3 separate regions of the Homo sapiens genome follow, and regions 1 and 2 are each linked to region 3. Evidence: promoter capture Hi-C in 16 types of primary human blood cells and fetal thymus (Javierre and others, 2016). All regions are on one chromosome and are shown on one strand. Each heading gives the region's core, a stretch centred on a gene start or on the middle of the fragment in contact. The rest is flanking DNA. Distances are from core to core; before and after follow the strand shown.

What was found. The method cuts DNA at HindIII sites, captures the fragments that hold promoters and counts their contacts. A CHiCAGO score of 5 or more calls a contact.
Region 1: a contact is called between a fragment that was not itself captured here and the fragment with the promoter of CDKN2B-AS1 in region 3, in 1 of 17 cell types (naive B cells). The highest score is 5.7, in naive B cells.
Region 2: a fragment that was not itself captured here is called in contact with the fragment with the promoter of CDKN2B-AS1 in region 3 in 7 of 17 cell types (total B cells, naive B cells, M0 macrophages and 4 more); the score reaches 14.7 in total B cells.

The regions. Positions count from the first base shown.
Region 1 is chr9:22,253,851-22,258,051 of GRCh38, forward strand. No RefSeq gene overlaps it. Among named protein-coding and RNA genes, the nearest start is that of DMRTA1, 190 kb to the right of the region's middle. The HindIII fragment of the contact is 1,412 bases long and covers 1,571-2,982 here.
Region 2 is chr9:22,446,939-22,451,526 of GRCh38, forward strand. DMRTA1 (DMRT like family A1) reads left to right here. Exons shown (of 2, transcript NM_022160.3): 1 at 1-794; 2 at 4,126-4,588. The coding sequence starts at 128. Among named protein-coding and RNA genes, the nearest start is that of DMRTA1, 2.4 kb to the left of the region's middle. RefSeq lists an enhancer at 62-561. The HindIII fragment of the contact is 247 bases long and covers 1,144-1,390 here.
Region 3 is chr9:21,991,613-21,996,040 of GRCh38, forward strand. It overlaps CDKN2B-AS1 (CDKN2B and CDKN2A antisense cis and trans regulatory RNA 1), which reads left to right and starts at 3,179. Exons shown (of 19, transcript NR_003529.4): 1 at 3,179-3,549. LOC124902130 (a long non-coding RNA gene) reads right to left here and starts at 2,416. Exons shown (of 2, transcript XR_007061436.1): 1 at 2,274-2,416; 2 at 1-868. It also overlaps a transcript of CDKN2A not described here. RefSeq lists silencers at 2,853-3,112, 3,433-3,632. The HindIII fragment of the contact is 17,311 bases long and covers 1-4,428 here.

The sequences.
Region 1 (4,201 bases), core at 1,027-3,526, 260 kb after region 3:
CTCTAAGTCTCCCTTAAATCTCAGCTAACAAGATCTCCTATATATGATTAGCCATTCCTTTTCTTTGAATGTTCTTTAAGACAGACAAACCCCTGGGATGACATACAGTTGGTTAAAAGTACATCATCAGGTAATCATAACACAGCCATCAACTGTTAAGAAATACCAGAGGCTAAAAAAAAATCCTGCTTTTCAGACCCAGTAAACTAAGAACTATCTTACAGTAGCACAGAATTACCAGATGTTAAGCCTCAGGTAATTGCTAGAGGAGGTTTTCCAAATCAGAAACCTTGGGGACCTCATCAAATTTGCCAGGATATCTCAGTTGCTCCATTCTGCCTGGTGTATCCCTAAGAAAAAAAATTAAATAGTGTCTTTCTTTGTTAATCTAGCTAGCTGTCAATCAATCTTGTTTATCCTTTCAAATCATCAACTTTTGGTTTTATTGATTTTTTTATATGGAGTTTTTGGGTCTCTCTTTTATTCAGTTCAGCTCTGATTTTAGTTATTTATTTTCTTCTGCTGTCTTTGGGGTTAGTTCTTGTTTTCCTCGTTACTCTGGGTGCAGTGTTACATCATTAATTTGTGATCTTTCTAACTTCTTGAGGTTGACATTTAGTGTTATGAACTTTCCTCTTAACACTGCTTTTGCTGTATCCCAGAAATTTTTGTATGTTGTGTCCCTGTTTTTCTCTATTACAAAGAATTTTTAAATTTCTTTCTTGATTTCATTGTCTACCCAAAAGTTATTCAGGAACAAGTTGTTTAATTTCCAAGAAATTATGTGGTTTTTGAGACATCCTAGTATTAATTTCTATTTTCATTCCACTGTGGTCTGATAGTATAATTTTAATTTTTTTGAATTTATTGAGATTTGCCTTATGGTAGAGCGTGTAGTCAGTCTTAGAGTATATTCTGTGTGCTAATGAATATATTCTGGGGTTGATAGGTGTAGTATACTGTAGATGTCTATTAAGTTTATAAATATGGATGCTCAAATATTGGATGCCTATATATTTAGTATAGTTATGTGTTCTCATTGAATTAAATCCTTTTATCTTTATGGAATGCCCTTCTTTGTTCTTCTTTACAGTTGTTGGTTGAAAGTCTGTTTTTTACTATAAGAATAGCAACCTCTGCTATTTTTTGTTTTCTATTTGTGCAGCCAATCTTTCTCCAACCGTTTACTTTGAGCGTAGGGTGTTATGTGTGAGATGGGTCTCTTGAATACAGCAGATTAATGGATTTTTTTTTTTAATTCAACTTGCTACTCTGTGTCTTTTAAGTCAGGTGTTTAGGCCATTTACATTCAAGGTTAATATTGGTATGTGAGGTTTTGATCTTATTATGAAGTTGTTACCTGGTTGCTTTATAGGGTCACATATTGTGTGATCATTTTATAGGGTTTGCAGAATATGTATTTATGTGTATTTTTGTGGTAGCAGATATTGTTATTTCATTTCCATATTTAGACTTCTCTTAAAAATCTCTTGTATTGCTGGTGTAGTGCTAATGAATTCCCTTAGTCCTTGCTTGTCTGGAAAATATCTTATTTCTCCTTCTCTTACGAAGCTTAGTTAGGCAGAATGTGAAATTCTTAGATGGAATTATTTTTTCTTTAAGAATGCTGAAAACAGGCCCCCAATGTTTCCTGGCTTGTAATGTTTCTGCTGAGAAGTCTGCTGTTAGCCCAACAGGGTTCCCTTTGTGCATGATCTTCCCTTTTTCTCTAGCTGCCTTTAAGATTTTTTCTTCAGTGTTGATCTTGGACAGACTGGTGGCTGTATGCCTTGGTGATGTTGATTTTGCATAGTATCTTACAGATGTTCTATCAGTTTCTTGTATCTGGATTTTTACCTGTCTAGCAAGGTTAAGAAAGTTTCTTGAATTATTCCCTCAAATATATTTCCTATTATTGAATGCCAAATAATTTGTATGTTTGTTTGCTTTGAATGATTACATATTTCTCAAGTACTTTGTTCATTTTTTAAAAATTCTTCTTTTTTTAATTCTTGTCTCACTGTGTCAGCTCAGAAAAACAGTCTTCAAGCTCTAAATTTTTTTTCTTCTGCTTGATACAGTCTGTTGATACCGCTTTCAGTTGTATTTTGAAGTTTCTTAGGTGAGTTTTTCAATTCCAGAATCTCTAATTGACTTCTTTATCTCTTCCTTCATTTTCTAGATTGCTTTATAAATTTCTTTGTGTTGATTTTCAACGTTGTCTTGGATCTCATTAACCTTCCTTGCAATCCATGCTTTGACTTCTTTATGTGTCATTTCTGAATTTCCATTTTGGTTAGGGACCATTGCTGGAGAGCTGATGTGGTCTTTTTGTGGTGTCACTCCTTTCATATTTTTCATGCTGGCAGAATTCTTATGCTGGTTCCTTCTCATATGGAGACACTAGCTCTTTAAATTTTTGTAATATTTTTGTGTGGGTAGAGTTTTTTCTTCTTCTTGCTTTCTCTATAATGTTAATATTATTATAATTTTTATTCTTTCCTTTTCCCTTTTCCCTCCATTTTGGGGGGATGTGACTGTAGAGAATGTTGGATAGGGTCTTCTGGCTTTGCTTTCATAGCCTTATTCATTTACTTTGGCTGATTTTATATTGGGCTGTGGAGTTCAACCTACAAGCTATTGATGGCATTTACAGGTAAGAGCTGGCTGTGGCCAACGTGTCTGGGTATATACTTGATTCTTATTTACTGGCAGAAACTCCCTATTGCCTAAGACAATAGGCTGATTCATGGCGTGTACAGTGGTCTGAGCTCCCTGACCAGCCCCAGAGCAGCAAAGACCATAAAGGGTCAGGGGATGACTGGGCAGGTCCACCTATTGGTCTCCTGATGGCAGGCGAAGGCACCAGCACCAAGGGAGAGTCCTGTGAGCAGCCACCAAATACTCACAGGTGTGCCTAGGGATGGAGCTGGAACAGTGCTTCAGCTCCAGGTTCTCTGCACAAAATTGGAGGATGGCCTAAGCTTCTAATCCAGAAGGGTAAGCACTCTAAGTGCCTGGAGCTCTGTATAGGCATGGAGCAGAGAGGATCCCCTGAACCAAGATCTCTGAACAGGAGGGTTGGGTGACAGACTGATTAACCAGGCATGCATGTGCTTTGAATTTCTGGAGATCTGTTTGGGCCTGAAGCAGAGAGGGACTTGCTGCACCATGATCTATGTCCAAGGAGGGTGGGGTGGCTCAGGCTGTTGAACCAGATGAGTGGTTGCTCCAAATGCCTGGCATTCTGCCTGGGTATGAAGCAGAGAGATTATCCCTGTACCAGGATCTCTGCACAGGAAGGGTGGGGCAGGTCAGGTTGCTGATCCAGATGAATGGTGCCCTGAATGCCTGGATATCTGCTTGTGCAGGTGCTCCTAATGCCTAGAGATCTGCCTGAGCATGTAGTAGAGAGGTGTGCCAGGATATCTGCACAGGAAAAGTGGGACAGCTTAGCCTGCTAATCCAGGTGAGCTGGTGCTCTGAACACCTGGAGATCTGTGAGGGTGGGGCACAGAGAAAGCCCTACTGTACCAAGATCTAGGTCCAGGAAGGGTGAGGCAGTTCAGGCTGCTGAACCAAGTAAATGAGTGCTTTAAATGCCTGGAGACAGATACCTGCCTGGGCATGGAGAAGAGAAAACTCCACTTCATTGCAGTCTATGTCCAGGAAGGGTAGGGTGGCTCAGTCTGCTGAACAAGTCAAACAGGTGCTCTGAATTCTTAAATATCTGCTTGGGTGTGGAGAAGACAGAGCCTCTCTGCAACATGATCTATTTCCAGGAAGGGTGGGGCAGCTCAAGCTGCTGGTCCAGGGAAGTGAATGCTCCAAATGCCTGGATTTCAGCCTAGGGGTGGAACAGAGAGGGCCCCCCAATGAGCTACAATCTCAGGAGAGCAGGGTAGGGAATCCAGCAATGGCACATATCAATCAGTTCCAGGTTGTCAAGCTGGCCCTGGCAGCAAATCTTGCCACTTAGGAGAAATTACAGCTGTAGCAGGTCTCCTCCTGCCCCAGGGTTGTGATAGGGGAAAAACACAATTTTTGCCTTACTGCTGAGGCATTTTCCAGAGTTCTGGCTGTGGAGGCCCTTACCACACTGAGAGCGGGTGCTCCCTGGCCTGAGACTAAAATGCCTGTGTAGCCACACTGCTGTGTCGACAAAGAATGGCTGACTTTGTACACATTCAGATTAAAAATG
Region 2 (4,588 bases), core at 17-2,516, 450 kb after region 3:
GTCCGTGCGCGGGTGGAGCTCAGTAGGACCACGGCGCGTCCTGCCCCGGCTTCCCCAGCCTCCCAGCAGGGTTAGCTGCGGTCAGCGCACTTTCCACTTGGGACTCCCGGCCAGAAATTTCTCGGGAATGGAGCGGTCACAGTGTGGCAGCAGAGACCGAGGCGTTAGCGGCCGACCTCACTTGGCCCCTGGGCTAGTGGTGGCTGCCCCTCCGCCCCCGTCCCCGGCGTTGCCGGTACCATCGGGGATGCAGGTTCCCCCAGCGTTCCTGCGGCCGCCCAGCCTCTTTCTGCGAGCAGCGGCCGCGGCCGCCGCCGCCGCTGCCGCCACCTCGGGAAGCGGAGGCTGCCCGCCGGCTCCCGGGCTGGAGAGCGGGGTAGGCGCGGTGGGCTGCGGCTACCCGCGGACGCCCAAGTGCGCCCGCTGTCGTAACCATGGTGTGGTGTCAGCGCTCAAGGGCCACAAGCGCTTCTGCCGCTGGCGGGACTGCGCGTGTGCCAAGTGCACCCTGATCGCCGAGCGCCAGCGCGTCATGGCCGCCCAGGTGGCGCTGCGCAGGCAGCAGGCGCAGGAGGAGAGCGAAGCCCGGGGGCTACAGAGGCTCCTGTGCTCGGGGCTCTCCTGGCCCCCCGGTGGTCGGGCATCCGGGGGCGGCGGCAGAGCCGAGAATCCACAGTCCACGGGCGGCCCTGCGGCGGGGGCTGCGCTGGGACTGGGTGCCTTGAGACAGGCCAGTGGTTCCGCGACCCCCGCTTTCGAAGTTTTCCAGCAAGATTATCCTGAGGAAAAACAAGGTGAGTTGGTCTTTGATTTACTCTTTGCTCAAGGAATGGTTGTTCTGGAAAGAAACTCTGAAACAAGCCACCGTGTCCATAGGCGGGCAGGAATAGTTGTTTAAAAGAAACACTTTAAGTTTTGGGGAACTGCTCAGCAATATGGACATTAATGAGAGTGTGAGAGACCCCATCGCCTTCACTTTGGAGGAATTTACTGTTGTTCCCTCAGGTGATAGGATGAGATAATGAAAAAATGAAGCATGGGTGGTAACAAATGAGCAATTCACCCTAGGAGTAGAGTTATTTACTCGGAAGTTGATTTGACTTTCACTGTGTGAGTAGAACTTCAAGCAGGCATTGAGCGAAAAGCTTCGTAAGAGGTGCTGTGTTTGAGTCTGCTCTGTACTCTTTCCAGACAGGATCTCACTCTGTTGCCCAGGCTGGAGTGCAGTGGCGCCATTACAGCTCACTGCAGCCTCAACCTCCCCAGGCTCAGGTGATCCTCCCTGCTCTGGACTGTTTTCAGCTGTAAAACCAGAGCTGATTTTGCGTGGGAAACTCTGATAGTTGGGGATGCAGTTCTTTACTACATGTTGGGGCAAACATTTGTTGCAAGCTTGATGTGGGGAAGAGACTGAAATCTACCAAACCATCGTCTTTCTTTGTTTCTTCACTCTAAATTGTTTTCGCAAAATGTAATTTGTAAAACCATAGGTAAGAATTTCAAAGTTCAATATTAGAGGTTTTTTATCCAAGGAGTTTTCATTATTTTTCTCTTATTTTTTGACTGCGAGTCAGTTGCCTTCATTTCCTGCGTTAGGAGATATATTTTAGTGAACTTCATAGCCCTCCACAGGGCCTACTAAGCAGTGAAAATATCATTGTGATTTTTTTTTTGTATAAGTCAAAAACTTATACAAAACTTATAAAGCTGTATTATATGAAATTGTATGATAGCTATACAGTAAACTATTAATTAGAAACCTTCCTTGAATTATGAAAATTGCAGATCTCAACAGATTTTTTCGCTCAATGGCTGCTTGAAGTTCTACTCACACAGTACATTCGAAAAATTCTGTGAATTGAAATGAGGCATTCAGTTCAGAGTGAATTTTGTGTTTGCATGTGTCAACTTTTGCACATATTCTAATTTATTTGAGTAGGCAAAACAGACTTTCTACAATTCCCATGAAAGATGAAGGTGCTAAAGAGCACAGTTATTAAGTAAAAGTGCTATGAAAGAGAAGTAAAAGTGAGAATTCCTGAAACTACACCGATAGTGAAATGGCTGACATCTCCCTGTGAGACACTGATTTATGTGATTTCTAGTTGGTACCAAAGTGTTCTGTTTTATAGAGCTAATTATTTTACTTTGTTCTTTGCCTCAGATGATGCCCCCTCCCCCATAAGAAGCAAGCTAATGTTTGAAAGGTTACTTCAATAGCTTTCTAAATTGACTGGTTCTCTTACACAATAGCCATGAACTGTGGTAAAATAGTCTATTTAATTTACTCATTCATTAGACAAAGACTAACAGTGATTTAGAAGTGAACAAGTTTTTCCTACACAGAAGAACCTTATATTCAAAAGAAGGCAGACTATATGTATCCAAAAACTACAATGCAAGGCTTAATATACAATGATAAATGCAATAGAAGTAAAGCAAGCTGTAGGACTTGAGAAGACAGAGAGACGATATAAGTGGTATTATATTTTAAAGACACCATATTTTCTAAATAATCTTATGCAAATTGGTATTTCATTACATATATTGTACTGTGAGTAAAATATAACAAGACATTATTTTATGATTTCATGCATAAATTGCTATAGAGATGAAATGTTGATAATTGACATGTTCGGGGGCATGCTCATTCATATTTACAAGTAAAGTGGAATGGAGGACTAATGCTAATCTATTTCCACTTGGCAAATTTCATTAGAAAAGTATTATTGTGTTATTTAAAGTTGAAAATCCTATAGAGTGTTTGCAATTTTTGCAGTAGTGACATTCTTTTTTTCATATGCTTATGGGAACAGCATATAGGAACAGCATTTTGAACTTCAAAATGCTAAATTGTATACACTTTAATTTTAAAATAAACTATAGCTATTTCTTTAGAATTTAGAACTGAATTCTTCTTAAGAAAACTGGAGAAAACTGGAGTATTGCAAATCATATTTACAAATCACTGTCTTAGGCAATATTTGTTTTGTGACATTCATAAACTTGGTAGAAAAAGGAAGTTGGACAGAATTACTCTGCACACTCCACTTAACAGTTTACTCTTACCTATATATCTCTAGGGTAATAGAAAATGTAAACCAAAGTAAAAGTTACATAGTAAATATGGCTATTTTAATTTTTGTGGTGTTAACCTAGTAAAGGGTATTAACATATTCTTGTTTGATTAATATGCTCAACATGTTGAGATAGAAAAACCAGAACTTTGTGTAAAAGTACTTTTGGAAAATTGCCCCTAACATTGGAGGAGGGCTGTGATTTAAAGCAAATGCCTAATATGTTGTTTTTAAAAGACAATTTGAGGATTTGTGTAGATTGCAATAGGACAGTTTATAATTTTCTTTTACAAACAATTTGCTTTTAAAGTCTGTTATTGATATTTCTTAAGGATTGAAAAAGAAAGTACATTTCATAGAGGATTATGAAAAATACCGTCTGTGTCATCTCTCATAAAATGAAATATGCAAGCTCTAGTATGATTTGGGATTGACATAGCAATAGTACTTATTGGTTTAAATCTGAAATGAAATGAACAGTTTTTTTTTACATTATTCAAGTAAATTAATTATAACCTGAAATATGAGATAAAAAACCAATTGTTAAAATTTAGCATTAGTGATTAAATAGAATATTCATTTTCAAACTAAGATTATTCCTTTTATTCCTTATTCATTTTATTCAGTTCTCTTTCCATAGTGTCATTCTGAAAAAATATCACTTAGATAACAACAAAACTTAGGTGACATTTAGGAAGATCCCACACAACCAAGATAGAACAGACAGTGTGCCATATTGGTGTTATGCAGACAATTTGGGGTAACAATACACTCTCATCTTCTGATTCCTAAATATAATTGCATTTTAATATTGCATACCTTTGTGATTCTGAGATGATATAATAGTATACTTTTCACTATTCCAGCACCTGCATTTCTGAATAATCTTTTAAATTTGAGTTATTCATTAAAATGTCTTGGAGTGTATAAATATTACTAATTAATAGGAGTGAATTAATTATATTATCCAGCATTATTTTTGAGTGAGCAGTACCACATTCTGGGAAGTCTTCCCTGTATTTGATTTTTTTTTCCCCCTCTTCTCCAGAACAAAAAGAGAGTAAATGTGAGTCATGCCAGAATGGACAAGAAGAACTGATCTCCAAATCCCATCAGCTTTACCTAGGATCATCTTCTAGGTCTAATGGTGTCATTGGGAAACAAAGTATCGGGTCATCTATTTCAGAATACTCCAACAAGCCTGATAGTATCCTGTCTCCTCATCCTGGAGAGCAATCAGGAGGTGAAGAGAGTCCCAGGTCCTTATCATCCTCTGATCTGGAATCAGGAAATGAAAGTGAATGGGTCAAAGACTTGACTGCGACCAAGGCAAGCCTTCCGACAGTGTCCTCAAGACCAAGAGATCCTCTTGATATCCTTACTAAGATTTTCCCAAATTACAGGCGCAGCCGGCTAGAAGGCATTCTACGGTTCTGCAAAGGGGATGTGGTCCAAGCCATTGAACAGGTTTTAAATGGCAAAGAACACAAGCCAGACAACAGGAACCTAGC
Region 3 (4,428 bases), core at 1,929-4,428:
TTGGGAAAATGGTTTAGCTTAACTCTATCATGGTAGTTGATAGTGATGAACTAACGTGGAATAATAGATCTGTAAACCATCATAGACGGTAATAGGCTATGTTGTTGCTACCTTAGGATCATAATGGACTTTCTAAAATTCAAGAGTACTCAAAGAAGTAAAATGAATATAAGTCTTGATTTCTGAAAGGGCTATGGTTCACTTGGAACACAATACAAACTGTGAATCATGTACACATGGGGAATAATGGTTTATACTAACTGCACAGTGCTTACCTTGAGAGGACTCTGTGCTATTAAAGAAAAAAATAACCTGAGCCTTCTGAAGTAGCTATAAACAAATGAATATTTAACTTCATAATAAAAATATGACTATTTTGTAAATGCACCAAGGTAGAAGTAACAAATCAACTATGGCAATTTTTCAGGTTTCTGTGGTTAAGAAACTGGTAACGTGGAATTTTAGTATATGTATTTCCAATCATATAAAAATAAAAAGTCATAATAAACATATTTGCAGAAACTTAAAAAAAGTTAAAATAACATCTTATTTGCAATGATATTAAATAATTCATACAAGTAATTTTTAGCACTTGTGCCTCTCAAGGAATTGTATGAATCCTAACATAATTAGTATCCATATATATTCCCAAATCAATATAGCCATGGGCATAAAATATATTAATGTGAAATATATAATTACATATCATTATAATTAACACCGCTAGATTTTATATTATGTATATCATTTTACATATGAAATTGGAAAATTGCATATATTTCAAGACATTCTATCCAAGCTGTGTTCTATCTTGAGAAACTTCCTGAAGATTGCGCTTTTCACATACGTCCTGAAAATTGATTTATACCTAAATAACAAAAAATGATCTATTTCAATGAACCTATCATTTAAATATTTTTGCATTTCATGCATATACATTAACATACTATAAAATATTTTCTCTAACTTAAAATCACCACAATGTTATGTTTTATAGGCCTAAACTAAAAAATACATAATTATGGCATTTATATACATTGACATGTTCTACTTTGTTACTACAGATTTTCAGAGGCAACTTAATAATTTAAACAAAATGATTTTATATAGAATAATATTAACTAGAGTAATAAATATTTTTATATAGACAATAATATTAAGAACTATATTCATACAGTTACCGGTCACAGTGGCTAAACTTTTGCTGATACGGATAAACCACTGTTAAAAAAAACAACAACCAGGGTCTTGTCAATGTTTCAAAATGAATTAAAATCAAATCCAGCAACAGGCCCTGAAATCCTTTATAAGCTCCTTTGACTAAATTAAAAAAATTAACTTGCATAATATGAAAAGTAAAAAATAAAATGTGCATTTATCCTATAGATTATAAATTTTTGCTAATAGAAATTGAGACACTAAATTAAACACTGATAGTTTTAACAGGTTTATATTTCCATGTCAAAGAGACAATTAACATTGCAGTAAAAAAATAATTACCCCTCCGCTGGCCTTTGCTTTTTGAAGCTATATATTCCTGGCGAAGCATACCACAAGGACGGTCATAAAAGTGAAGCCTCATTAAATTACTTTTAGACTTATTACACAAGTTTTAATTAGCATTGTACATATTTTAACTGTACATATATTCTTTCAGTTTTCCTGGTTATAGGAAATTACACTGGCTGTGTCAACATTTGTCAATGTGAGGACAAAACTACCTTGGATTCTGTTTTTCAAGAAGTAGGCCTCATTTTTAAACTGTGCTAACTGTCGTCTGAGATGACTAAAATACTATCAGTTGGGATTTCTCAGGAACAGTTCTACAGTTCTGTCGTTTGCTAAACATACGAGCATTGTCCCGAGCAGTTTCAATCACTCAGGCCGCCGGACCTCTACCTCTAACTCACAAAGAAAGCCCATTTCCCTGTTGGCTGCAAAACTCCCCCAAGAAGCAAGTGCTTGCTCCTCGCAGCAGTAACTGATCCTACGATCCTTGTTAGCATTTCAGGAAGTCGCTGCCTGCGTGCCCCGTATCTCACGGGTCCTCCACTCTCCTGGAAGGTGGGAGAGGGTGACCCCGCCGGGAGGCTGGGGAGAAAAAAGGCCGCCTCCAGAAAACTTAGATGGTTAGCAATAATTCTCCCCAAGGAGAAAGAAAGTGTGCTTGAAATACACCTTTCCTACTGTGTGTGTGTGTGTGTGTGTGTGTGTGTGTGTGTGTGTGTGTGTGTCTTAGTCATTCCCACCCAGGATATTCGGGACTCACTGACTTCTGAGGTGGGTTTAGAAGCTCTGTTCGCCTCAGTTTCCCACGATTGAGGGGCTGTGTGAAGGGAGGTCCAGGTTCAATGGTACTGCGAGAACCACATGTCTAAGTCGTTGTAACCCGAATGGGGAAGCCTCCACCGGCGGTTATCTCCTCCTCCTCCTAGCCTGGGCTAGAGACGAATTATCTGTTTACGAAATCACACCAAACAAAACAAGTGCCGAATGCGCCCCGGACTTTTCGAGGGCCTTTCCTACCTGGTCTTCTAGGAAGCGGCTGCTGCCCTAGACGCTGGCTCCTCAGTAGCATCAGCACGAGGGCCACAGCGGCGGGCGCCCCTGGCGCTGCCCACTCCCCCGTGAGCCGCGGGATGTGAACCACGAAAACCCTCACTCGCGGCGGGCCGCACGCGCGCCGAATCCGGAGGGTCACCAAGAACCTGCGCACCATGTTCTCGCCGCCTCCAGGGCCGAGCTCGGCAGCCGCTGCGCCGCCCTTTGGCACCAGAGGTGAGCAGCGCCACTCCTGCCCCCTTAACTGCAGACTGGGACCCACGCACCGCCCCCTGCCCATCTCCGCCCCGCAGGCGCGCACCCGCCTTCCCTGAGCGCGCCCGCCCCCCACCTTCACCCCCACCCCCACCCCACCCCCACTCCCACCCGGACCTCCAAGATCTCGGAACGGCTCTGAGCCCTGCGCACGCGGGAAGGGCTGCCGGAGGCGCCCGTAGGGAGGCGCGCGCGCGGGCGGCTCAGGGCCCGCGTTCCTCTCCCTCCCGCCTACCGCCACTTTCCCGCCCTGTGTGCGCCCCCACCCCCACCACCATCTTCCCACCCTCAGCGCGGGCGCCCCGCGGTGACGGCCCAGGGGCCGGACGCCTGGAACGCAACTCCAGGCAGCTCGCCCCCTAGCTACATCCGTCACCTGACACGGCCCTACCAGGAACAGCCGCGCTCCCGCGGATTCTGGTGCTGCTCGCGTCCCCGCTCCCCTATTCCCCTTATTTTATTCCTGGCTCCCCTCGTCGAAAGTCTTCCATTCTTCAAACTAGATTATTTAAAAATGAAAAAGGAAGAAAGGAAAGCGAGGTCATCTCATTGCTCTATCCGCCAATCAGGAGGCTGAATGTCAGTTTTGAACTAAAAGCCGCTCCGCTCCTCTTCTAGATTTGGAAAACAAGCGAAATTAAACTAAACCGCTGCACGCCTCTGACGCGACATCTGGACACGGCGCGGCGCTGGCGCTGCCGGAGCTGTCGACCCGGCCTGGCGCCGGACTAGGTAGGTGGAGTCGCACCCGGGGGTCCCAGCTGGGTCCGGGCGCCCATTCCCCTCCCAGCTGCCCGCGTCGCCGAGGGCGCCTGGCTGGGACAAGCACCGAGTCCTTTGTGTCTAGCCCATTTTTATTTTCGGTTTTAACCTTCACGACAGCCGCGGAGCATCTGAGCGCTTCTTCCTCTTTCCTCTTCCCCCGCGCTCCCCTCCCCTGCTGGCCGCTCCCCTCCTGTCGCCGCGTCCTCGCGTAGAATGGTTGTCTTGGCGACCGTTGGCCGCTGCCGCCTCCACGCTCTGCCCCGCGCCCAGACACCCCGACTCCCCTTGATCCCGCCGCCTGACTCCTCGGCGTACGTTCTCTCTCCGGTCTCCCCCTCCATGTCCCCTCCTCCCCTTTTCTTCCACATCACCGATCCTTTCTGGACTCTCTCCCTTCCTCCTTTCCAGCTGGGAGACAGGAAAAGCGGTCCTGTTTGGGAACAGTAAAAGCAGGGCAAGGAAAGGAAGGAGCGGCAGAAAGGAGGGGTGAGTCGAGGACACAGGGGCAGCCGGAGAATGCGGAGGAGCCGGGTCCTGAGCGCGGTCTAAGCGAGGCTCGGCTCTCGTCCAGGAACTCGGACGCGGGCTCGCCGGCTCTCCGCGCGCGGGAAGTCGAGCCCAGGACGCCGCCTTCAGGCCGGCGCGCTGACCCGGTGCCCCGACCCGGAGCCTGCGGTCTGCCTGGATCCGTCCTAAACCTCGCGGGCTGGACCCGCGGCCTGAGTGGGTGGGTGTGTGCCAGAGGATTCGGGACTAGGCCCAGCTCCGGGAACCTGGAAATGTGGCCCGCTTCTCAGTGGCTTCCTGTTCATGCGCTTGGGCCTAGTGGCCTAGTTGAAGAAGTGG